Regions from separate parts of the Homo sapiens genome. Here all the other regions are linked to region 3. The links are contacts of gene promoters, found by promoter capture Hi-C in blood cells and fetal thymus (Javierre and others, 2016). All regions are on one chromosome and are shown on one strand. Each heading gives the region's core, a stretch centred on a gene start or on the middle of the fragment in contact. The rest is flanking DNA. Distances are from core to core; before and after follow the strand shown.

Region 1 (3,624 bases), core at 31-2,530, 1.9 Mb after region 3:
TTCTCTAAATGTATACACTTGTGTAACCACTACCCCAATCAATGTAATATTTTCATTACCCTAAAAAGTTGTGTCTTAACTCTTAACGGGCAATCTGCAGCCCGCCTCACCTCCCCAGACAACTCTTGTTTTAATTTCTGGCCCCATAGTTTTAATTTTACTTGTTCATCAACTTCATGTAAATGGAGTCATACAGTATTTGTCTGGTTTCTTTTGCTCAAATAATGTTTTTGAGATTCATCCATGCTGTTGATGTGTATCAGTAGTTCCTTTTATCCCTTAGTATTGCACTGTATAAATATATCATACTTTACCCCTTCTGCTGTTGATGGGGGTTTAGGTTGTTTCCAGTTTGGGGCTACTATGAGTAAAGCTGTGAACATTCTTGTAGAGTATTTTTGTGAATATTTTTTATTTCTATAAATACCTGGGAATAAAATCACAGGGTTATAGTCCAGAAGTATGTTTAACTTTATAAAAAAACTGCCAGACTTTTTCCAAAGTGATTTTACATTCCTGTCAGCAATGTGTGAAGATTCCAGTTGCTCCAGATCTTTGTCGACATTTGCTATTGTCGGTCCTTGTAATTTTAGTCATTCTAGTTTGGGAGAAAATGTACCTTGTTGTTTTAATTTGTATTTCCATGTTGACTACTGTTGAGCACCATTTCATATCATCATTCCCATTCAGACACCTATGCGAGGTGTCTGTTCGAATCTTTAGCGCAACTAAATTACAGTTTTAGCCCAAATTAATGTTCTTATTGGGATGTTTGTCTTATTATTGAGTTGTAAGAATTCCTTTTATATTCCCTATACAAATCCTTTGTCAGATATTGTGAATATTTTCTCCCACTCTTTGGTTTGCCTTCTCTATTTTAATTGAGTATTTTGATGAGCAGACATTTTAAATTTTGATGAAGTCCAATTTATCAAATTTATCTTTTATGTTTAGTGCTTTTAAAAGAGGCCTCTCTGAGAAGTCTCTGCCTACTTCAGGCTTAGGAAAAATCTTTGTTTTCTCCTAGAAGCTTTAGGATTTTAACTTTTACATTTAGTTGTATGAGGAAGTATTTATTTTAATGCAGTAACAGGAATATCATAAGCATTGGCTTTAAATCTGAATTTTCCAGAAGGCTACCTACCTGAAGAAAAACAAAAAATAATTGCTTCATATTAAAATAATTTTTTCTTCTTATTGTGAAACAACAATCATAGCTATAATAAGATAATGATGTTTCATTCTTTTCTCTCAGGACTTTAATTTTTGGAAGTGAATAAAACTTGTTTTAGAAGACGAGATGACTACAGCTGTAGAGAGAAAGTATATTAATATTAGGAAAAGGCTGGATCAGCTGGGATACCGCCAGACTCTGACAGTGGAGTGTTTACCTTTGGTAGAAAAACTTTTCAGGTAAAGACAAAAATACAGTTTTCAACCTTTATGATCCCTAACCACTTACCTCATTTCTGATTGAACTTCATGCTTTGGTAAAGAAAAGGGTAGCTTTCCGGAAAGGCTTTCAATCATGAAGCTTATCTGTTTTTTCCCTGTCCTCAATCCAGGCCTTCCACACGGCAGAACTCTAAAGGCCACCACTCACGCTGTACTGTTCAAAGTCAACATTTCTGGGGGTTTTCTCTGTGAATGGAATTACAGTTTTTTGGGTTTCTGATATAATTGAGAGACACTTTTCCCTTAAGTTCTTTTTTTTTCCCCCCCTTAAGTTCTATGTCTGCTTCACTGGTCTTCAAATACAGTCATGGATAGTTTCATGACAGGGATACGTTCTGAGAAACATGTCATCATTAGGTGATTTTTTCGTTGTACCAACATCATAGGGTGTGCTTACACAAACCTAGATGGTGTCGCCTACCACAAACCTAGGCTATATGGTCTGTATCCTATGGCTCCTAGGCTACAAACCTGTATAGCATGTTACTATACTGAATACTGTAGGTAATTGTTAACACAGTGGTGCCTATTTGTATATCTGAACATATCTAAACATAGAAAAGGTATTGTGTTGTGCTACAGTGTTACAATGGCCAGATCTCATGAGGCAATAGGAATTTTTCAGCTGCCCCCATTATAAATCTTACAGGACTACTCTCCTTCCTATATGTGGTCTGTCGTTGACCAAAATGTCATCATGTGGTGCATGACTGTATTTTAAGCCTCTTTAGAAATATGTTTTTAGTTATTAGAAAGTTAATGAAATATTTCCTGGTATTTAAATTTTCTGTTCTTTTAGCGACTTAGTTCATACAACTGAGAGCCTTCGGCAATCAAAATTATCTGCTGTGAAAGCTGAAAAAGAAAGTGCCAATTTTGATTTTGTTTTGGAACCCTATAAACTTGAAAATGCAAGATTGAGTAGAGAAAATAATGAATTATACCTAGAGTTAATGAAACTGAGAGAACATTCAGACCAACACGTTAAAGGTAAGTGAAAATTTGATAATTTTTAAAATGCAATGTCTTTGTCCTTTTTATTTTAGAAGGAAAAGCTAACGTCTAATTTTAAAACTATTGATTAGAAAATATAGTAGTCCTACAGCTGGATGGTGTGTGCCTATAGTCCCAGCTACTCGGGAGTTTAAGGTGGGAGGATTGCTTGAGCCCAGGAGTTTGAGACCAGCCTAGGCAACATAGTGAGAACTTGTTTCAAAAAAAAAGAAAAGAAAAGAAAATATGGTACTCCTTCTGCTAATAGCCCCTGAAATACTATAGGGTATGTTGAAGAGTTCCTGAGAAGGAAAATAAATGTGCATTATATAGCTATGATAATCACTATATGTGGATTAAATTTTTAGAATTAAAAATTTAATTAAAATTTTAGAATTAAAATTGCCATAGGGAATATTAAATGCTGGATTTGAAGAAATGTTCTTGAAACAACTTTTGTTTTTCCCTTACTGAAAATAAAAGTAGTAAATAAGGTGAAAACCATGTATCATGCTGACTGTTTTATAGTCAGTCTTTGAGCTGTCAAGTAGAATAGGATGATTTCAAAGGTACTAGGGAAAAGATAATTATATGGTTATCTTTGTATGAATTATTCTTATATTCAGTAGAAAACTTTATCTAATCCATGGTATGAATTCATAATCCTTTAGCTTCAGACCCAATTTACTGGATCAAAAGCTATGATGTACGTTAGGCTAATACAGTAGCTGAAAAATGAAGATTCTCTTTTGTGCTTAGTGAGTTATTTGCAGTTTTGTTAATAATAGTAGAAGAAGGAATAAGTGTCAACTAAAGCATGCATAAGAAGCAGGTGGAGACTTTTAAATTGATATGACTTTTTGTATTTTGTGAAATGGAAAAACTTCATTGGATTTCTTGATCTTTAAAACGGTCTTTGAATCTTTTTCATTTTAAGAGTTGAAAACTTCATTGAAGAAATGTGCACGTGAAACAGCTGATCTGAAATTTCTGAATAACCAATATGCTCATAAACTCAAACTGTTGGAGAAAGAGAGCAAAGCTAAGAATGAAAGAATTCAACAACTTCAAGAAAAGAATTTGCATGCTGTAGTACAAACTCCAGGTAAATCGATTCCTTCTCGAGACAAATTATACACATTTAATCTTTTAACGATATTAACACCATTGACTAAA
Region 2 (3,292 bases), core at 622-3,121, 1.4 Mb before region 3:
CAATGCACTTGTGCGGCAACCCGGCCCTCGGGAACCAGTCCCTCCTGGGTCAGTATTGCACCATCAGAGATATTTTCCACTAATGTAACAAAACCATCCTGAAATGTGCTGATTATGAAATGTAAAATATAAAATTCTGGGCTCTCTCCTCCCATCCTCAAATAGAGTAGCAATGGGAGAAAAAACATGAGTAAGTTGTTCTTTACAGCAATGTTATTTACTCAAAACTCTCTGTGGTGAGCTACATCCAGAAACTAAAAACATGGAGATAAAATGAATGGATAGAGTAATTTTGTATCTGTCAAGTTTAGTAACAAAAAAATTAAGGCTTGCATTTTATTTCTCTTTGGGTTTTTTTAATTCCATTTTGCTAGTTATTCCTTTTTATTGTATTTTACAAATATATTGGTCTGAGACAGATTGAAAATAACAATAAAACTGGTCCTTCCCTACAGACTCTGAAAATAATTACCAACAGCAAGGTATTTAAATAAAATTGAGTTTATTTTCCTAAATATGTGAATAGCTGCTGAAGCTCACTTCTAATAAGAGAAATGCAAACTACAAATATACTAAGACACCATCTTTCCCCTGACTGGCAAAGATCAAAAGGTTTCTGGGTAGCACACTGCTTTGGCAAGGCTGCAGGCAGCCAGAGTCACACATATTGCTGATGGAGGGCAATTTGGCAAAATCCATCCCAGTTACAAATGCAAATCCATTTTTAGGAAGTCGGTCCACAGATATACTCCCACATATGGACAAAGTTGTTCCTTACAGCCTTGTTTGTAAAAACCGAAGACTAGAAAACTACCTACAACATGTCCTGCTAGTCAGTGAGGGCCTGGTTCAGTGAATTCAGTAGACTCAAGCAAGTGAATACTCTGCAGCCATAAAAAAAGAATGAGGTGGCTCTTCCCACAGACCCTCCTACAAGACACAAACAGCAAGGGGCAGATCAGGACAGATCAGGGTATACTCTATGTACTCTTTGTGTTTTTAAAAACTAAGAGAGAAATATAAACACAGTTGCTTGTATATGCATATAACTCTAAATGGAAGCATAAGAAACTATAACTATTGATAGATGCCAGAGATAAGAATTGGACACTGGGTCTATTTTCAACATACAACCTTGTGCACATTTTGAAATTTCTGCCACATAAACTCATAGTACCTATTCAGACACTTTACTTAAAAATTTAGAAAAGAAACTGCGCTTAGCTACTTCATGTATTTCTCAGTTAGGAAGGCTGTGTGTGCCAAATGACACAAAAGAGTGTGGTATAAGCTCATTCAAAGACAACATATCTTTTACTACAGAATGTGCTCTCATTCTCAGGAAAAGGAAAAACATTGTATCTTGACTAGTGACAACAAAAGCTTGGCCACACACCACCAGCATGTGTCTTCCAATGGCATTTTTGTCAGAAATCATAGCTTCTTCCTCCTTTTGTCCTGCAGCCCTTCCCTAGTTCTCCTTGACTGAAAACCATAGCTGGTTTATAACACACATGCTCGTCTTCTTGCCACTGCTCACCAGCAGGAGTGGTTCTTATTTTATAGACCCAGAGAGGCCTCAGTGACCTGCCCAACACCGCTAAAGCTGGAAAGCAATCAGAGCCTGGGATTTCTGAGTCCTAGCTCAGGGCTCTGTCTACTACAGTGTTTGGTGGACTCTTTCACTAATGGAAATAAGAAGGGCACTGGAAGAAAGTGGTAATGCAATGCCCAGGCAACAGGCTAAGCACTAGACATCAATCTCTCTGCTTAAGCCCCACAATGACCCAGGAAGGTAAGTTCTCTCATCACCCACAGGCTATGGATAAGAAGCATGTCTTTACAAGGGTAGAGAACATCAAGCTCTCATACCCAATCAACAGTGGTGTAGAAAGTCCAACCATATCTCAGCCATGTGCTCACTTGCCTCCCAAGGAAGCTCACCGACCAGACCATCATCTACAAAGTAGTTCAACAAATGGTGCTCCTCCAAGAGCCGATTATTTGAGCCACTACAAAAAACCTCTTATCTGAGCCAATGTCACCCAAACTATGGGCCATGAATCCTGGAGGGAGGGGAGTTACTCTTAGGTGGCACCAGTATGAACAGTTTTAAGTGTAGCAATAATGTTTTTGAAAAGGATTAGAAAAGCATAAAATTAGCTCATCAAACCCATCATTTTGCAGATGTTTCAGAATAAGGTCAAATTAGGGTGAACAGATTTAAGGAAAACTAAGTAAATAAGTTCAAGTGATACACAGATGTAGCAAAAACCATGAACAATGATGACAAACTGACATTTGAGTATCACTGACCTAAGCAACTGGATCCATCCCACAGTTTTTCTCTAGAGTAAGAAAAGCTTGGAAATAATAGGTTATCCACCCCTACACTGCCAACCATACAATATGCATTCGTTCTGAATGTTATTTTTTATTTATTTATTTGTATTTGCCTTCTCTCCATTACTACATTACCCTCTGATTCATGAGGCAGGGAAACCCAGTTCCTGAAGCATACTGAAACTCTGCATTTAAATAGGAGTGTCCTATGGTAGCTTAACCTTAGAGGGACCTACCTCTAGTTTGCCCTGAATAGCTCAGATTACACCTACAGATCAATTAATATTTTATAATTACTCTGAGCATTCTTTTCTCTTTGAAAAGTATCTGACTTGGGAACCCAATTAGACAGTTTCCTGTTGTCCTGTCATCCACTACAGCAATGATTAGAAGAGTCCTGTGGGCCTCTCTCTACCCGTGTCTCCCAATACCACAGAAACAGGGCCACAGGGCCCCCTCACCACCACAGCACCCAGTCAGAACCAAACCATGCTGTGAATTTGGCCTCTGCTTTTGCCAACTTCCTTCCCCAATGTCACTCCTCCCAAAGTGCCCCACTAAATGTGGACAGCAGGTCAAAATGGAAGTAGAATTTCACTGGATCCTGAAATACCAACAGCTTTGCACTTTGAGCAAACAGAAGGAAAATAATGATGAACTAAAAGAGTGAGAATAATTATGAAAACTAACAAGCATGAAGGCATCATAGCTCACACAGTGCTTCCATGGGCAGGATCTCTTCTGATGCTCCCCAAAAAGCTTTAAAGAAGGTATTTCATTGACTACCTTTGTTGTAAAAAGATAAATAGGATCTGAGATTTACCAAACAGGATTCTGAATTCCAAACTCCTCCACTTTACAACTATATGGAAAATAGAAGTTGTTTTGTTTTTCCCAAAGCCTTGCTGCTCTAAAAATGGTCCCGAAACCAGCATTATCTGTACCACCA
Region 3 (3,305 bases), core at 575-3,074:
CAGTGCAAAAAGGTCCTAAAAGTCAAAATAAAATCAAATGGCAGGTTATGAATTCTGTGATATATGTTAAAAGTTTAATATCCATGATATTTGGTTATACTTCTTAAGCTGGTGACAACACTTAGAAAGTATTATTGTGGTGAATTAAATTCCACTGTCTTGTCATGGTGCTGTGATGGCAATTATGCAGTGTTTTTACCCTGTTAAGTCACCTGAACATAAACTAACAGGTACTAAAGAAATTAAAGCATTACATAAGCATACTCAAACAACAATATGGCTGGTCATACGAGAAATGCAATTATTTTGCTGACAAACTTATATGAGAAGTCTTACTGTTTCCCTAAGTTATTCACAGCACATCCCACTCACTCTTCACCAAAATATAATGAAGACTATTCCAGACATTCTCAGACTTGCTGGCTCTTTTGTTTCACTGAAAAGGTGAAGAAGTACAGAGATACCTGACAAGTATGGAAGTCTGATCTATTATTTGAACAAGAGATCTAAAATGAGAGAGTATCAATGTAATACATCAAGTGGTACAAAACTGTGGACTTCATAGTGAAACATTACAAAACTTCCTGCTTCCGGACAGCTCATTATTTGGTTCAAGGCTTCACATTCCTTTGTCATGGTCTTTCCGAAAGCTTTCATTCCTTATTAATATCAGACTTTTAATGTTACTAGTGGGACTTTCCAAATTAACAAGCCCCAAGTTCGTGCCCCAAGGAGGAGCTTCAGGACTACAATTTTCCCTCAGTAACCTGAGCAGAGTGTATGTCCCTCACGTAGTTGTTGTTGTTGTTGTTGTAAACATATTTCTTTCTGTATATCTTAAATTTGTGTTCAACTATATATTTTTATCACGTACAATTACAAGAACTTGCATTAGTTCTGCGGAAATTAGTGGAAAAACTGGGAGACCTGTGGGTATGTGTGAAATAGACACGAAACGGAGCTTCGCTGCCAATTGTCACTGGGGTCTCACACGGCCCAGATCTGGCCTCTGAGCCATGTCACTGGGTGCAAAGGCACAGACAACCACAGGGTAACTGGGCGAGAAAACAAGGAGGCTCCCTGTCAATACACGTACTTCCACCCTGAAGAGGAAGGGTGGCCCGCAGGGCAGACCCTAATGAAAACCCGTGCCTACTGGGATCGTCACATCGCCCGGGCCTGTAGGGCCTGCTAAAGGGGTGTGTGGAGGAGGAAGGACAGCGTCCGTCCCCACTTCGGAGACCCAAACAAATGAAAATAAGCCAAGTTCTCACTTCCTGGTTGCCTACTCTTTCGGAAGGCCCCCGACACCAGACGGACACAGGGGAAACGGGGCTCCCGTGGAGTAACGGGGCCCACCCCAGCCCGCACCTCCCGCCCTCGCCCTCCTCCGGGCCTTACACGGTGACGTGACCGGAGCCGCGGACGACCACCGGGTCCGGCGAGTACTTGAGCAGCTGCTCCTCCAGGGCCCGCTCCTCGTCCTCCTCTTCCTCATAGATTTCGTCGAAATCCGCCATCCTGAGCCTCCGAGCTCCCCTGCCCAAAGGGCCTGACTCCCGGGGTTGGCGCCGGGGTACCGGCGGGCGAGGCGGCGGAGGCTGAGGGGAGTCGCCGCTGCCGCCGGCTCCGAGGCCGCGGAGTTCGCTGTCGGCTGTCTCGGCTCCGGCTACAGAGGGGATGGGGTCTGGACCGTCGCCGCCACCGCCGCCGCCATTACCATCAGCAATAACAACAACACAATGTCAACATCCGCCCAGAGGCCGACACCTCCACAAGCACAGACGCCGCTGCCGCCGCCGCAGCAGCAGCAACTCAGGAAACCACAGCAACAGCCCGAGCCACCCGCAGCGGGAGCAGCCGGCTACGGCATCGCGAGACTTCCCGGGCCAACGGGCGGGCGGGCGCGTGCGTGGGCGCGTGGGCGAGCGGACTGGCTGGCGGGCGGGCGGGCGCGCGCACGTGCGGCCTCGCGCGCTCCCAGGCCACCGTCTTTCCTCTGCTTCTACCCGCAGACGGCGACCGGGGCGCGCGCTCCCGCCGGCGGGCCCCCCTCCGCCGACTTCTGGGTGGCGGACCCTGGGGGCGGCGGCTCCGCTGACTGGAGGCCGCGACCCGCGACTCCGACAACGCAGCTTGGAATGTCCAGTGGGACATGCAGTTCCCCAAAGTCATCTCTAACCAAAACAAACAACTGAAAAGAAAAGCCCTGGCTGGAATAGACACATTTTTGTGCGTGTCATTGCCAGTTTATCTAATAATCGCATCTCGCTTTTCCTCAGGTTTTGAGTCTATGATGAGAACCAGAGTCTCTTTTTTCCCAATTTGAGGAGTCCAGCAGAGACACTGCAAACATTTGTGCTCACCACAGGATTTTTCAAGACATCTCCAAATTCAAACATCTTATCCCTTGATCCCCTTAAGTATAATCCAATATATGAGGCCAGCGATGCTGGTATTTTTTTTTTTTTCTTACAAGAAATCTCACCGTAGTCATGCTATGAAAAAAAACTGATAAATTACCTGGATTCCATATTAGAAGATGCAGTTTCTTGCCCCAACTCTCTCACCAAACATAACCTGGTTTTTGTTGTTGTTTCCTTAAAATCTTAGGGAATTCCTTTCCTTTTCTTACCAGTTCCTACCACAAAAAAGACCTGAAAGAAAGGGCAGAGGAGAGGAAGAAAAGGAGGCAGGAAGGAAGAAAGGATAGAAGGAAGGACGAGAAGAATGAAAGAAGAATGGGAGAGAAAGAAAGAAGGGGAGGAAGGAAGGAAAAGGTTTAATGGAGTCTACTTAGCTGCCTAGTAACAGTTGAACGGTCACTTTGGGTACTTGGTTTCATTAAGCATATAAACAGCACAGGGGAAGGAGTGGGCTTCTGAGAAGAGAGTCCTGGACAGTGAGGATACACCATGGGAGAAGAAAGGATAGTTCTACTGAGCCCAGCGCTGGTCAGGCTCTTCAAGTGCAGTGTTCATGTCACAGTAGTCGGCTTTAGATGGGTCACTGTTGACGTGGAGAAAGTGCAAAGGAGGTCAATGAGGACAGTGAGAGATGCCAACCTCCTTTTGGAAACAACTGAAGGAAATGAGTGTGGTTAGCCAAGAAAAAATGAAGGAAAAATACAGTAGTTGTATCAGACTTATTGTATCCCTCCCTGGAGGGTATTTGTTCATTCAACAAATATCTACTGAACTCTAGCTATGTGGCAGGCACTGTGGACGTGTGTGAATGAGGCACAGGCCCTGACTTCTGGTAGCTTATCTATTGTTAAGGCAAGCAATTGTCATCTCTGCCAGGGG
Region 4 (3,688 bases), core at 1,041-3,540, 1.8 Mb after region 3:
AGTAACTTGCCCTGTGGTCACTGACTCAGTAAAGGGTAAAGACCAGATTTGAACCCCTGGTCTGTGTGATTCCGAAACAGGAAAATTCCCTTATCCCCATCGCAGGGCATGCGATGGGGGTGTCACTCACTTCTTCAGTGCCCCACTGCTCAAACCTCTAGGGGGAGCATGCAGAAGGGCAGGTTGTGGGGCTCGGACTCCACGGCAGCGTATAGGGGTGAACGTTTACAGCTCCTGAAGCCCTGCTCAGCGTTTGTTACAGGGTGCTCTTTTAGTTTAGTCATCCGGATGGCTTGTGTTAGCTAGCTCAATTAGACCTCCTGCCTAATTGCAAGGAGAGGGCTTTCTGTGTCCTGAGGTTTCTTGCCTTGGTGTAACCGGAAGAATCGGATCCCACGTGAGGGCTTGGAGAATGAGTGCAAGATTTTATTGAGTGGAAGTAGCTCTCAGCAGATGGAGAAGCCAGAAGGCAGATGGAGTGGGAAGGTGGTTTTTCCCTGGAGTCGGGCTGCTCAGCAGCCCAGATCTCCCCTGACCACCTGGGGCTAAAATCTGCATCATTCTGCCGGTGGATGGCCTGCCTGTTGATGGCCTGCCTGCATCTGTTGTGTGCTCTTCCCCTGGCACGCTTCTATGCACGTCCAGCCGCTTGTGTGTTCTTCCGCCAATATGTTCTTCTCAACATCCAGCTGCTTGTGTCTCTGCCTGCTAGGGTCTCAGGGTTTTTATAGGCACAAGGCAGGGGTGTGGCAGGCCAGGGTGGTCTTGGAAAATGCAACATTTGGGCAGGAAGGCAGGAGTGCCTGTCCTCACCTAGGTCCATGGGCACAGGCCCAGTGGTGGAGCCCTAGCCAGGGCCCACGTCCTTCCCTTCCCAGCACTTCCCTGCCCCACTCCTGTGTCAATTCCAGTAATGATATACTTTTCATTATTTCATGTTGCTTCTTAAGTCTACTTCATGCAGTAGGCTGTGATGACATAAAGATATTCATTGAGAGACTACCATGGTATACCACGTGTCCTAGGACTAGACAATTTGTTCCTCAGTTTTCTGGTTTTAAAATGAGGATAATAAAGATTCCTTCCTCACAGGGTAGTTGTGATGATTAAGTTAATTAATACATGTAAAATGCTTAGAATAGTACATAGCACATAATAAGTGCTATGTAATTGTTAGATATTATTCTGAGTTCCAGGAATCAGAGATACATCACTGAAAAAAACAGATAAAAATCTTTGCTTTCATAAAACTTCATTCTAGAGAAACAGCAAATGAACAAACAACATATACAATATGTCAAAATGTAGCAAGAACCATGAAGAACAAAAGTAAAAAAGGAAGATAAAAAATACTGGGAGGAGGGTGGTTGGGGAACTATTTTACATAGGGTTCTCTTGGAAGGCCTCAGTGAGGTAACATTTGAGCAAAGACTTGGAAGCAACATGGTAGTAAGCCATGCAGACTGAGGCATGAGAATTGCTTGAACCCAGGAGGTAGGAGGTTGCAGTGAGCTGAGATCATGTAAGTGTACTCCAGCCTGGGTGACAGAGCGAGACTCTGTCTCAAAAAAAAAAAAATTAGTATTTGCTAGATTGCAATAATTGGTTCTTCAGGAGTTGAGTGGGGAATGCTGCCACCAGGATAAACACTATGGAATTCATTGCACTTCAAACTTTTACTTAGTTACCTTGTGCTTCTTACGGAAGTGGACAAGCTGGCAAAGAAAGGAGTTACTATGCTCGTGGGAGTAATCAACTGTGATTAGCAAAAGGATCTAGGATTGTTGCTCCACAATAGCACTAGGGAGGAATTTGGAATCCAAATAATTCGCTGGGGCTTACTAGGTGTTTCTGTACCCAGGGATAATTTGAACAGGTAATTACAGCAATCATGGCTTAACCAGAGAAAGGAAAATAAAGGCTGAAGGTGGGGGCTATTTCACCAGAGAAACAACTTAGACCAGCTGATGTGCTGGTCAATGGTGAGGGAAAATTAGAATGGGTAGTGGAAGAGGGAGTTAATACAAGTATGGTCCTGACATTGATGCAGCAGTAAAAACTGAAGCTTATTCTATTAACTCTCTTATATTAAGGCTTTGCTGAGATTGTGGCTGGCCATCACCTTGAAGAGACCTCTGTGAAGGACTGAACATAACAGAGCACACAGGCAGATCAGAGTGCTGCAAGATATGGACACCTTCTATGTCCTTCTGTGCAACTTAGGCCATGACTTCAAATCCCTTCAGCCTATTATTCTAACCACTGCTGCAGCAACCTGCTCGGAGCAGGTTTGATGACCTTTGAACAAGTGCGAAATACCAGCACCTCTCCTCTCACTTCCTGCCCCAGCATGTCTCTGATGTGGGAGTCAGCTTGGCATTCACAACTGTGCGATTTGTAAGTGTGAAGTAGTTAATGCCCAAGGGCATTAACCTTCGATCAAAGAGGACAGGAGCCGACATACAAATGCTTCCTCCGTTCTTTCCTTTAATGGACAGTTCTGAGACTCATTTCATAAAGCTTCTTAGAAGGTCCTAAGGGACTAAGAAAACATTCAAATATGGTGATGACCAACTCAGTAACACATTCTTATACTGCATCTCCCTTTTTGTTTTGTCTTCTTCCTCTTCCCTCATTTTGCTCCCTGGGATCAAATTTCCAAATAAACTATTGCATATAAGTGTCACTTTGCAGGGAATCCAAGAGGAGAGAGGATAATTTAATTTTTGGACACACAAGTTTGAGGTGTCTATAAGACATCCAAGTGGAAATGTCAGGCGATGGGCAGTATATACACAAATCTTGAGGTTCAAGAAAGAGATCTAGGCTTCTGAAATGCAATTCATTTCCCAACTTTGAGGAGGGCTATAAACATACAGGTAAATAAAAGAAAGATAATAGGACCAAAAAACACATGCAATTGTCATAGAGTGTCCACAGTAAGCATTCCGGTGCCAAGCAGGAAAGGGTCTTTGTAAAGATATAACCAGATCCTGCTCTTAAAAGGGAAGTCATTTGATGAAAGTGAAAAGTATTCTAACTACTGTTTGCTCATTTAAATTTCTAGCACATTTATCTGATCTGTACCTCTCTTTGGTCACTTATTTTGTGTCCTATTTTATATATATTTGTACCTACACCTTGTCTAGTCCTACCACACTGTGAACTCCTTTAGGTTAAGATTCATGCCTGAATCACCTCTGTACCTGGAATCAAAGTGCCTAGCATTAAAAAAAAAAGGTGCCAGGAATATTGAATAAATAAAACACCTACCTGCAACCAGCAACATTGGCATCATTTATGCATCCCAAACTTAAATATGCATAAGCATCATCTTGCTAAGATGCAGATTCTGATTCAGTAGATCTGAAGTGAGCCAGAGAGGCTGCATTTCCTAAAAAGCCCCCAGATGATACCCAAGCAGCTGATCCACGGACCACACTTTGAGTATCAAGGTCATGAGGACAATGGTTCTTGACCTTAGCTGCATATGAGAATCATCTGGGAAGATATTAAAAGTACTGATGTCTGGGTCCCACCCGCAGGGATTCTGATTTAACTCATTTAAGCTCTCCAAAGTTTAAGTAGCAAAGATCTAGAGTTAATAGAGCTTTACGTATGAAAAAAGAAAACATTTAATCGAATTTCTTCTTAAATGAATTGCTGCAAATATCTGAATAAATAACTC
Region 5 (3,382 bases), core at 196-2,695, 1.3 Mb before region 3:
GGAAGGTGTTTGGAAAGAGGGAGTGGCCAACCATTAAGACTGGCACTGCACGATGTGTTAAGAAGTTTATAGACCATTTATTTGGCAAAAGGGTTTTTTGAATATCTTTGTAGAAATTATTAGGAAGACAGAAGGTATGAAAGGGCAGAGTATTTCCTTAAGATACATTTCCTGTGAAATTACTCTGCCAATGAAAATGAAATTTTAAATATCCTATTATACATGGTACATTTGCTTCAACCTTTCTGAAGGATAGTTTAATACAGAAAAAAAACTCATTAAAAAAGGCAACTAGGTTTAACATACATAAACTATATATGTATATATTTACACATCTGTTTAATTTGAGGATGTAAAATACTATTACTTTTTAAAGCTTTTTACTCTGAATTATATATTTAAAAAAAAACAGTGCAGAGAGATTCCACGTAGCCTTCACCCAAATTCTCCCAAGTGGAAGTCACTATAGCACAAAAACAAAACTAGAAAATTGACATTGAGCTGTGTGTGCCAATATTACATCATTCTGTGTCATTTTGTCATGTGTAAATTCATGGAACCATCACAACTCAGATATAGAATTATTATGTCACCACAAAGATCTCACTCAAAAAGTGTTATGTCCTAAGGCTTTCGTTTGGAAAACAGAAAAAAAAATCATCCACATTTCCTCCCAAACAATTATTTTTATTGCATATATTCCCTCACAGTTGTAATTACTGTATATCATAATATTTTCTTAACAGCAAATGCACATTTTCTTCACCTTTGACTTTGTACACCTCTAGGTTTTGAAAGCAAATCGACCCATGCTGCAGGATTATCACAGGGTTGTTGCCACCCCTGAAATATTCCTTGTGGTAGTACTGATTGCTGGTTAAGATGGCTACATTTAAATACTCATCTTCTGAAGCTTTCTGTGGAGAAATTAAAAAACATATATCTTGTATAAAGTCATAGATAACAATCAAAAGAATAAAAAGTATTTGTTCTTCAGTAGTCCATCTGTGTAACTATCATTAGAATTGTATGAGGAGCCTAGCCCAATTACTTTTCATGATTTAAGTGAATTTAGCATTTTCTTGTTGCTTGTACTTTGTATGTAGATTCTCTAGATGCCAATAATGATGGGTTAACTTTTAAAGAAGTGAATATATATACACATATGTGTATATACCTATATATAAATTGAGGAGACGATTTAACTTTTGAAAACGATGTCTTGACTGAATACTGCAAAGCCAAAGACAAAAAAGCAAACGCTGTATTCTAATTGGTTACTTTGTTTCTCATAAAGGGACAGGTTAGCAATTATGTAACTATGTTATGTAACTAGTTTACACATATAGTAGAGTTTAACAAATAAGCAAATAAATCTTAGCTAATAGGAGACAGGTTTCTCAGCAACAGAAAAGTTACAAATAAGCAAGGGGTAAGGTGAGGCTAGAATGAATCCTGTGGTGCTGAGAGTTGGAGATATCAGTATAAACTCGTTTATTTCAATAAACTGTAGGTATATATGTATAGGTATCTGTGTATACATACAAACATTTCCTAGCTGTGTCCACTGAGGGGGCCTACACAGTGATAACCTAGTAGCAGTAGCAATGAGCACATCTTGTGCCCAGATCTTGGTTTCTAAAACCATTTTTCAGTACAGGGAACAATGGTTTCTTGGGAAAAAAAAATCACTGATTCTAGGGCTGGGCAGGAAAAATAAAAGATGAGCTTGCAGCATATTGGAGCGCTGGAGAGTAAGGAAGTGCTGAAAAAAAAAAAATAAGGCCAAACAAACAAAAAACACATAGGGAGAGGCATGTCAAAAGGAAACAGGAACAAATTTTCCAAGAGCTCTCAAAGGCCAAAGCTGCAACACTTTGAGCAACAGTATGATAGTACTGGATTACAACCCAAAGAACAATGTATATATCCATGAGTCCACACTGATAAAAAATATTGGATAACAATTTTCCTTAAGTAAGCTTCTAATTAATAAATGTATCAGGAAATAGGAAGGTGAAACATCTGGTGAACCTTTGAGCTGGCTAATAAATGTTTTTGCCAACCAACCTATTTTGTGTTCCTTCTGATGCATAACAATGGAAAGAGGATTTTTTTCCCCTATGAGTTTTGAAAATCAGAAATACCTTTGTGTCCATCACCAGTAATGTTGAAACTATTTTCTATAACTTGTCATGCCCTACAAACCTTACTTTAATCAAATATTGTGCAGCTTAACACACCTCATAATCAGTCATGCTATTTGATGAAACTTTATCCTTTTAATAAGACATTTTCTAACATTCCAATGACTGCCCCTTTATTTCATATTTCCTCTTCACTTTGTATTCGTACTTGACATTGTGAAATGAGGACCAGGCCAGGTGCGGTGGCTCACACCTGTAATCCCAGCACTTTGGGAGGCCAAGGCGGGCGGATCACCTGAGGTTGGGAGTTCGAGACCAGCCTGACCAGCATGGAGAAACCCTGTCTGTACTAAAAATACAAAAAATTAGGTGGGCATGGTGGTGCGTGCCTGTAATCCCTGCTACTCAGGAGGCTGAGGCAGGAGGATCACTTGAACCCAGCAGGCAGAGGTTGCGATGAGCTGAGATTGTGCCACTGCACTCCAGCCTGGGCAACATGAGTGAAACTCCGTCAAAAAAAAAGGAAAGAAAGAAAGAAGGAATGAGAGAAAGAGAGAAAGAGAGAGAGAAAGAAAGAAAGTAAGGAAAGAAAGAAAGAGAGAGAGAGAGAAAGAAAGGAAAGGAAAGGAAAGAAAGAAAGAAAGAAAGAAAGAAAGAAAGAAAGAAAGAAAGAAAGAAAGAAAGAAAGAAAACCAAGTACCACAAATACCCAATACTGAAAGTTGCATTTCTTTTAATGGCTTCTCTAGTTTCAATGCATATTGCATAACAAACACAGGAAGTCCTATATCTTTCAGCTCAAGGAGGCTTTCTCTTGTGTCCTATATTGCTGAAAGTTTTTATTACCTTCTTTTGTGTGTGTGTGTGTGTGTGTTTTGTGCTTTTTGGGGTTTTTTTTTGAAACAGAGTTTCGCTCTTGTTGCCTAGGCTGGAGTGCAATGGCATGATCTTGGCTCACCACAATCTCCGCCTAGTGGGTTCAAGTGATTCTCTTGCCTCAGCCTCCCGAGTAGCTGGGATTACAGACATGCACCACCAGGCCTGGCTAATTTTGTATTTTTTTTTTTTTTTTTTTTTTAGTAGAGATGGGGTTTCTCCTCGTTGGTCAGGCTGGTCTCCAACTCCTGACCTCAGGTCATCTGCCTGCCTTGGCTTCCCATAGTGCTGGGATTACAGGCATAAGCCACTGCACCCAGCCTACCTTCTTTTGATATCAACATTACTATGAACAACAA
Region 6 (3,617 bases), core at 588-3,087, 1.5 Mb after region 3:
TGAGTATGACCTATGGTCTATATCAGATGTTAAGCTTTCTGACAGGCTCCAAGTCATGTCCCTGTCCTGTAGGTAATAACAGAGCCCATACTGGAGGCAAAATGGCAAAGCAGATGATCATTCAAGATGATTCCGTTTTCAAGGCTGAAAAGAACATATTTGCAAATGCACAGAAAAAGATCTACAAGATCATACAGTGGTGTTAACAGTGTTACCCTTCAGTCAAGGGTATACGAGTAGCTGTGCTCCCTAGATTCCTCTGGGGAGGAATGTGAGCTAGAAGTGGATGTAAAGGGGTTGTCACTTATTATATATACACTGTATTAACTTTTTATGAGCATCAATTTACTTCTGTAATTTTAAAAATAAGAGTCCCAGCTACTCGGGAGGCTGAGGCAGGAGAATCTCTTGAACCTGGGAGCCGGAGGTTGCAGTGAGCCAAGATCGTGCCACTGCACTCCGGCCTGGTGACAGAGCAAGACTCCGTCTCCAAAAAAAAAAAAAATTGAAATGTAATTCCATTTTTAAAAAAGATTGAACGGACCCACATGGAATTCAAATGAAAAATAAGTGACACTTTGCAGAAGTCTATTAGAAAAACCTACATATCAAACAGAAATAATATAAGTATCCTATCCTACAAAATAAAAAGGAATACTGGTAATATTACAAAAATGCCCACAGCAACTGCAATCCATTACTCACTATTCACTACTTTCATTACACAATATTAGTCACCAGGGGGAGTTTGAGGGTCCCCTCCCAAAATTATATCTCATCTAACAGCTGCCTGTGCAGTCTTAACCTCATTAAACAGGTTTTCAACAATCCAGTCCTAAAAAAATGTTCATTTTGTACACTTTCATGAGAAACAACCAGACACACACACACACACACACACACACACACACACCCCAATTTACCTTTCACTGGGGTTCATGTTTGATTTCCTCAAAAGAAAGAAAAGTTTCCCAACCTGAAAAGCAAACTAACCTAGACAATCAAGTTTACTAGCACTTTAAGGGAATGTTCACATCCTCCTCATAATTGTTTGTCATGAAACTTTGGGGTTAAGTAAAATTTTACCCATCTATGACTCCTGAAAAAAAGAGGAGGGGGAAACACAAACTACACTCTGAAAGCAGCATAATCCAGCCATAATGCCAAATGTAAACAGTCATATATTTTAGCAAGGCAAGATATAACTAAACATCTTTAAAAGATAAATGCCTGTGACCTCTGCAATCTTAAAAATTAAAGTGTAAATAGTCATAAAAGGTATCCCAAACTTCCTTTTTAGTTGATTTTCCTAAAAAATATGAAAAGCAATCATATTGAAAATGACTCAAATCACCATAAATTAGGCAACAAAAATCACACAAATTATTTGGGGGAGGAGGATTTTTGTTTAATCCAGTTTATGAGTCCATAATACACACAAAAATTTGAAAACATGAAGACATACACATAATACATCTCATTTCCCACCATTCCCTCAGACTATTTCTCCCTCTCCTCTATTGTTAGTTTTCTAAATCCTCCCATAATTTCTTTATATAAAGAGCAAACATAAACTTGTATTATTACACCTCGCCCTTAAGATGTAACACACTATTCACAAAGTACCGCTACACCTTGCTTTTTTCACTTCATAGCAAATTTTTGCAATCTTTGCATGTTAGTACGTAGAAAGCTTCCTTATTCTTTTTTCATAACTGATTACGCCTAGCTTTAGAACATTTTCAGTCTGCTTTCTTCAGGCTAACTTTTTTTTTTTTTACTTTTTTTATTATTATACTTTAAGTTCTAGGGTACATGTGCACAACGTGCAGGTTTGTCACATATGTATAAATGTGCCACGCTGGTGTGCTGCACCCATTAACTCGTCGTTTACATTAGGTATTTCTCCTAATGCTACAGGCTAACCTTTCAAGACATTCTGTTCAGCCAACCACTTATCACAGGAATTAATTTCCTTCCCCCAAGCTTTGAAAACCAATCAGATTTGAGGTGTCCCAAGGGATAAGTTTCAGAGAAAGCAATTCATTATCTAAATTACATCCTTTTAAGAATGTTTATTTTCAAACAGGTAGAGGGGAATATTGCACAATTTTCTCTAATCGCTTAAAGCTACAAATCAGAACGCAATCTTCAAAGTGAAATTACCTTTGATTTGGGGGGATCAGCGTTATAGTCAAATCAACGACTGTAAAAGTTTACTTCTTGTGCTTTTCTTCCACTGTAAAAATTTTTTTATTTTTTAAAGAAGGCTAAAAAGCCTTAAAGTCTAATAGCACGGCATTCTAATAGCAGGAAACCACAATCTGATTTGATCTTTCATCTGCCAGGTCAGAGACTAGGCTTTTATCTTGCAGAATTAGGCTCACCTACCATCAACAAGAGGACCTCTACAAAGCTACAAACACTTTCAAAGAATATAAACTCTGCGGCGCTGCGTGTAGGAAATTACACTCCAGGGGCCAGAGCGCCAGAGCCAACTCCAGAAAACCCAGCTTCACTGGCGGAAAGAAATCTACAAACGCCAGCGGCGGTGACGGGGAACGGGAAGCGCGGGTGGACGGAAGAAGAGAAACCGAGCGCCTCGCCGCCAACCCTCGAACCCGCGCGCGGTCGCTGGAGTCAGACGCTAATAGCCGCGCGCTGCCTAGGAACGGAACCCCGGAACCACCACCACTAACGGAACCAGCCCGCGGCCGGCAACGGCGGCCGTTCGGACTGCGGACTGCGGCACGCGGGCCGGGCGCCGGGAGGGCGGGGGTTCCCCGGAGGAGCTGGCCGCCCCGGCGCCCCATTGGGCGCTGCTCCAAACGTGCCCGAGTGGTGACAGGAATAAAGTGGGTCACAAGGCCTAGCGGGTCCCCAGCGAAAGCTCTCTCGGCACCCGGTCCCCGTCTTTCCCCGCCTCCCAGCTGCTGGAATCGGCCGCAGCTCCGGGCGCCCTCAAGCCGCCCGGCCCCGCCGTGCACCCCACTCCCGCCCCTGCCCCGCAGGTAACCCCAGCTGCCCCAGAGGGCCTCTCAGGCAGGGCGGGCCTCGGCCCGAAGTCCCGGGAAAAGACACACTAGAACGACACGCCAAACTTGGGCTTCAGCTCCCGCCTTCCCCACCCTTGGCCGCCGCCCCCCGGCCCCACACACGCCGCCCCCCGCTCCCTCCCCTTCCCCGCGCCCTCACCGTGTGGCTTGCGGCGGCTCCGGCTTCTTCCCTCCCCCACCCAGGTCTCCCGCTGCGGTGACTCGGAACCACTACCCCGCCTGTGTCCAGGAGGCGCCGCGGCTCCCACCTCCAGCAGCACCTGGGGCTGTGAGTGGCGCCCCCCACCCACCCCCCCAAAAATTCGCCGCTCCTGTGGCCAGCTCCTCCTCCCCCTCCCTTCCCTTCCCCTCCTCCACCAGCCCAGGAGCGCGCATGCGCCGCCAAGGAAGCCAACCGGCACTCGGCAGGCCCTGGGCCCACCGGGCGGGCGCCTCTCACCGGGAGCGCTCGCGGCGGCGGCGGCCAGATTTCCTTCGCGCTCTCGCTCTCCGGGGTTTCCTTTTTTAAACCGGCAGCCGCAAGCCGAGTCCGTGATTGCGCCCCCTCCCGGCGCATGCGTC
Region 7 (3,426 bases), core at 97-2,596, 1.2 Mb before region 3:
CACTCCAGCCCCGGCTCCCCCATCCACTTCCACAATTCCAGCTTCCTCAGGCTCTTCCCACTGCCTCCTTTCTCATTGCATACAAAATGCACAGATTCATTCATTCATTCATTTACAAATACCCATTAAGTGCTAGCATGTGCTGTGTGTTAAGCACTCTAGGTTCTGGGGATAGAGCAGTGAGCAAAACAAAATCTCTACCCTTACAGAGCTTACACTCTAGTGTGGAGAGTTGGACAATAAACAGCCCACCAAATAATGCAGCATGTCAAATGGCGAAAAATACAAGCTTGAACCAAGCCTCCAGGCAGCGCTGGGCCTGCATGTGAACTGGAGAGAAAGGATGGAGGAAGAGAGAGGGAGGTCGGTCATTACTTCAAAGGGCTCTCCTTATGGGTCGAACTATTTCATAGTGGTGGGGGAAGAGCTGCTAAGGGTCGTATTGCTTCACTGGTTTGCTGAGAAACTTCTGGAGCCTGCGCTGGACAGGACTACAGTCTGGATATTGTTCTCTACAAGGTTGTGGGGCTTGGCAGGCAAGGCTGCTGTCTTCTGCCCTAAAATCACAGTAGGTCTGAAGTTGATAACACAGTGTGCAAGCTTGTCCAAGAGGAATCATTCCATCTCTTGCCTGGGGATAGAGAGCAGAGGAATGCCTTGGCTCTTGGCTGTACTGTGTATTTTGGCAAATGAATATAAGAAAGGCTTCAGCGTGGTCTTTCTGCCTATCTCCTCATCTAAGTCCAGGTAATGAGGAATTTGGGAGAAGATTTGACAAGTTTATGAAAGTGCTACCTCCCAACCACTAATTAAAGGACAATCCAGGCTGGAAAAAGAGCTCTTTGTTTCACTTTCATTATGAACATATCAAAGTATTAAACTTTTATAATTTACCAGGCTATTTTATATGACAAATTTTGTTGGGCATTCAACATATTGTACGGCACAAAACCTGTTGTAGTTTACTTGTCATTGAGCTGAATATATTTCCCAGTTAGCATGGGGGTACACATACTTTGCAAAACAATATTTTGTTGTTGTTGTTTTTTGCTTTTAGAGTTAGTTAAAATCATCTCAAATGACACTAGAGCTTTTCTATCTTGCAACACTTTGGAGCAGATAGCTTTACATTCCAGCTGAATTAATAATAATTAATTATGGACTTCACACAACATTCTCAGCAGAGATGTCCCAGCATACCAGCCTTCACACTACTGATGCTTGGAATGTGCAGTTCCTCTATCAGTTACAATCTGCTGTGCACAACTTCTATTTTGGGCCTAAGTTGTTTCTTTATATAGAAACCAGTACCCTTGTCAAATCAAGTGAGTGCATGAGTCATTTGTGCATTTCCTAAAAACCATCACATCAAATTTTCCTCATCTGTTATCCATTTTCTTTTTTAATTAGAAGGAAAAAGCATTAACAATGCATATATCTTGGTGAAAATCCTAAGTGTTCACAGACTACTGTTACAGTAAAAATGTTTCTTGGCCAGGCACGGTAGCTCACGCCTGTAATCCCAGCACTTTGGGAGGCTGAGGCAGGTGGATCACCTGAGGTCAGGAGTTCAAGACCAGCCTGGCCAACACGGTGAAACCCTGTCTCTACTAAAAAATACAAAAATTAGCCGGGCGTGATGGCACTTGCCTGTAGTCCCAGCTACTCGGGAGGCTGAGTCAGGAGAATTGCTTGAACTCAGGAGGCGGAGGTTGCAGCGAGCCAAGATCACACCATTGCACTCCAGCCTGGGTGACACAGCAAGGCTTCATCTCAAAAAAAAAAGAAAAGTTCCTTGGTGGTGACTGAATTTCATACTTGTTTAAGAGATGATCAGTCTCCATTTGCATTTTCATCAACTATGTAACTTAAATACCTCTGCTAACTTGGGGCTCAACTTCGATCGTTCATACTGTGACTTGTGATATTTTAGACACTATTGAATGGCTGGAGACGGTGTCACTAATTAGAGTTTAGAAAGTATTTGATGGTTACCCTGATTTTTGAGCCCGATAAAGCAATGAGAACCAGTGTGGCCCCAGACAAGACTTAAATTCTCACTTTCCAGGTGACTTGAGGTATGGGGGGATATGAAGCTTGTTCTTTCCCCATATCATGGATGGATATTTTTGAAAAGCTTTGATTTCCTTTAGGTCTTAGTACATTATGCTAAGGAGCTGATGCTTTGGGGAGAGGATACTGCCTTCTATGCGAAGACAAACAAGGACGCCTAAAATGTCCTTAGGTAGCCCTTTCTGCACTCTAGGGGCAGTTAGAGGCAAATATGAGGTATGTCTAATCTACTTAAGAATTTGAACCCAAAGAGGTCTGTTAAACAATTGGCCCATTCGTCTGAATCTTTCTGAACTTTTCCTGCTTGTGCATATCTTCTGATCACAAAATCTTGTCAAGTATCCCAAGAGTACTCGGTCCTGTGAGGCCAAGGCCAATGCTCATTTCTTTTGCTCTTTTATCTTCTGAACAAATAACGAGTTAGAAGGAGAAGAGGCAGAGGGATATTCTTGTAAGATTCTTCCCACTGGAGAAGAGAATGATCCCAAAGAACATTGCCACTGTCTATTTGCAATATTATTAGACCTTACATTTAACTGAGGGAACTTCTATCAATGGCTTTATTAATAATGTAGTAATGTCCGTTTGTAGGGTCATTCAATGTTCCAAAGGCTTTGTGAAAATGGGCACTGAGACTTTTCCTATTTCCAATTAAAACAGTGGATATTTACCAGTTGTTTCATGGACTATTTAATATTTGAATTTATTCTGACCTATTGTCATGAGATTGCTTATCAAATAGGTGTTCTATGTTCCCATAAAAATGACTGAGGCTATTAAGATTCAAATCATTGAGAGGAGAAGAAAATCTCAGATTTTAACTTAAATGAAAAAGAACTAATTTAACCTTTTATTTTATCTTTCTTTAATATATTACATTGAAATAGAGAAAGAGGGTGGAAGAAGCCTTCCAGAATAAGGAAGATAAAATCTTACTGAATAGCAGGGGAATATAATACTAGTTCTTCTTTCCTCCCTGGTGTGGAAAGGGGGACATGTGGGCCGTTTTGCTGCCATGGAAACCAACCAAGGTATGTGGGAGGGGGAGGGAAGGCCCCTTTGAGGCCCATCCTCCCCTTCTTGGAACTTAAATATCTTTCTTACTTTTCTCAGAGTTAAAGTGTTCTAGTCAGGAGGTGATCTTCCCAATGGCAAGAGGGGTGTGTGTGTGTGTGTGTGTGTGTGTGTGTGTGTGTGTGTATTTTATTTGAGTTCCAATTTGCCTTCTTTCCTACTTTACCTTTTAAATCTAGTGATTCTGGCTGTCTTTAGTCTAGACTTACCCAGAAGGAAAGTTGACAGTTAAAAACAAAACAATCGTTGAGCATATATTGGGTATCAGCACAGCCTTCT

What was found. The method cuts DNA at HindIII sites, captures the fragments that hold promoters and counts their contacts. A CHiCAGO score of 5 or more calls a contact.
Region 1: a contact is called between a fragment that was not itself captured here and the fragment with the promoter of CHIC2 in region 3, in 3 of 17 cell types (non-activated CD4 T cells, naive CD8 T cells and total CD8 T cells). The highest score is 7.5, in non-activated CD4 T cells.
Region 2: a fragment that was not itself captured here is called in contact with the fragment with the promoter of CHIC2 in region 3 in 1 of 17 cell types (total B cells); the score reaches 6.1 in total B cells.
Region 4: a fragment that was not itself captured here is called in contact with the fragment with the promoter of CHIC2 in region 3 in 3 of 17 cell types (total CD8 T cells, naive CD8 T cells and total CD4 T cells); the score reaches 12.6 in total CD8 T cells.
Region 5: a contact is called between a fragment that was not itself captured here and the fragment with the promoter of CHIC2 in region 3, in 1 of 17 cell types (naive CD8 T cells). The highest score is 5.0, in naive CD8 T cells.
Region 6: a contact is called between a fragment that was not itself captured here and the fragment with the promoter of CHIC2 in region 3, in 1 of 17 cell types (fetal thymus). The highest score is 5.3, in fetal thymus.
Region 7: a fragment that was not itself captured here is called in contact with the fragment with the promoter of CHIC2 in region 3 in 1 of 17 cell types (fetal thymus); the score reaches 5.2 in fetal thymus.

Annotation. Positions count from the first base shown.
Region 1 is chr4:55,950,831-55,954,454 of GRCh38, forward strand. It overlaps CEP135 (centrosomal protein 135), which reads left to right. Exons shown (of 26, transcript NM_025009.5): 2 at 1,256-1,413; 3 at 2,255-2,445; 4 at 3,386-3,553. The coding sequence starts at 1,301. LOC124900705 (a long non-coding RNA gene) reads right to left here. Exons shown (of 3, transcript XR_007058124.1): 3 at 1,561-1,641. Among named protein-coding and RNA genes, the nearest start is that of CEP135, 3.7 kb to the left of the region's middle. The HindIII fragment of the contact is 504 bases long and covers 1,029-1,532 here.
Region 2 is chr4:52,646,255-52,649,546 of GRCh38, forward strand. The region is part of intron 1 of USP46 (ubiquitin specific peptidase 46); the gene reads right to left. Among named protein-coding and RNA genes, the nearest start is that of USP46, 11 kb to the right of the region's middle. The HindIII fragment of the contact is 980 bases long and covers 1,382-2,361 here.
Region 3 is chr4:54,062,781-54,066,085 of GRCh38, forward strand. CHIC2 (cysteine rich hydrophobic domain 2) reads right to left here and starts at 1,825. Exons shown (of 6, transcript NM_012110.4): 1 at 1,402-1,825. The coding sequence starts at 1,520. RefSeq lists an enhancer at 1,233-1,733 and silencers at 1,533-1,662, 1,893-2,132. The HindIII fragment of the contact is 3,181 bases long and covers 649-3,305 here.
Region 4 is chr4:55,849,763-55,853,450 of GRCh38, forward strand. No RefSeq gene overlaps it. Among named protein-coding and RNA genes, the nearest start is that of EXOC1, 2.0 kb to the right of the region's middle. RefSeq lists a silencer at 3,678-3,688. The HindIII fragment of the contact is 455 bases long and covers 2,064-2,518 here.
Region 5 is chr4:52,738,381-52,741,762 of GRCh38, forward strand. No RefSeq gene overlaps it. Among named protein-coding and RNA genes, the nearest start is that of ERVMER34-1, 11 kb to the right of the region's middle. The HindIII fragment of the contact is 1,069 bases long and covers 912-1,980 here.
Region 6 is chr4:55,543,287-55,546,903 of GRCh38, forward strand. CLOCK (clock circadian regulator) reads right to left here. Exons shown (of 23, transcript NM_004898.4): 1 at 3,496-3,617. It overlaps LOC124900704 (a long non-coding RNA gene), which reads left to right and starts at 2,579. Exons shown (of 2, transcript XR_007058122.1): 1 at 2,579-3,324. RefSeq lists silencers at 2,619-3,248, 3,369-3,468, 3,529-3,617. The HindIII fragment of the contact is 293 bases long and covers 1,692-1,984 here.
Region 7 is chr4:52,852,287-52,855,712 of GRCh38, forward strand. No RefSeq gene overlaps it. Among named protein-coding and RNA genes, the nearest start is that of RASL11B, 8.3 kb to the right of the region's middle. The HindIII fragment of the contact is 1,496 bases long and covers 599-2,094 here.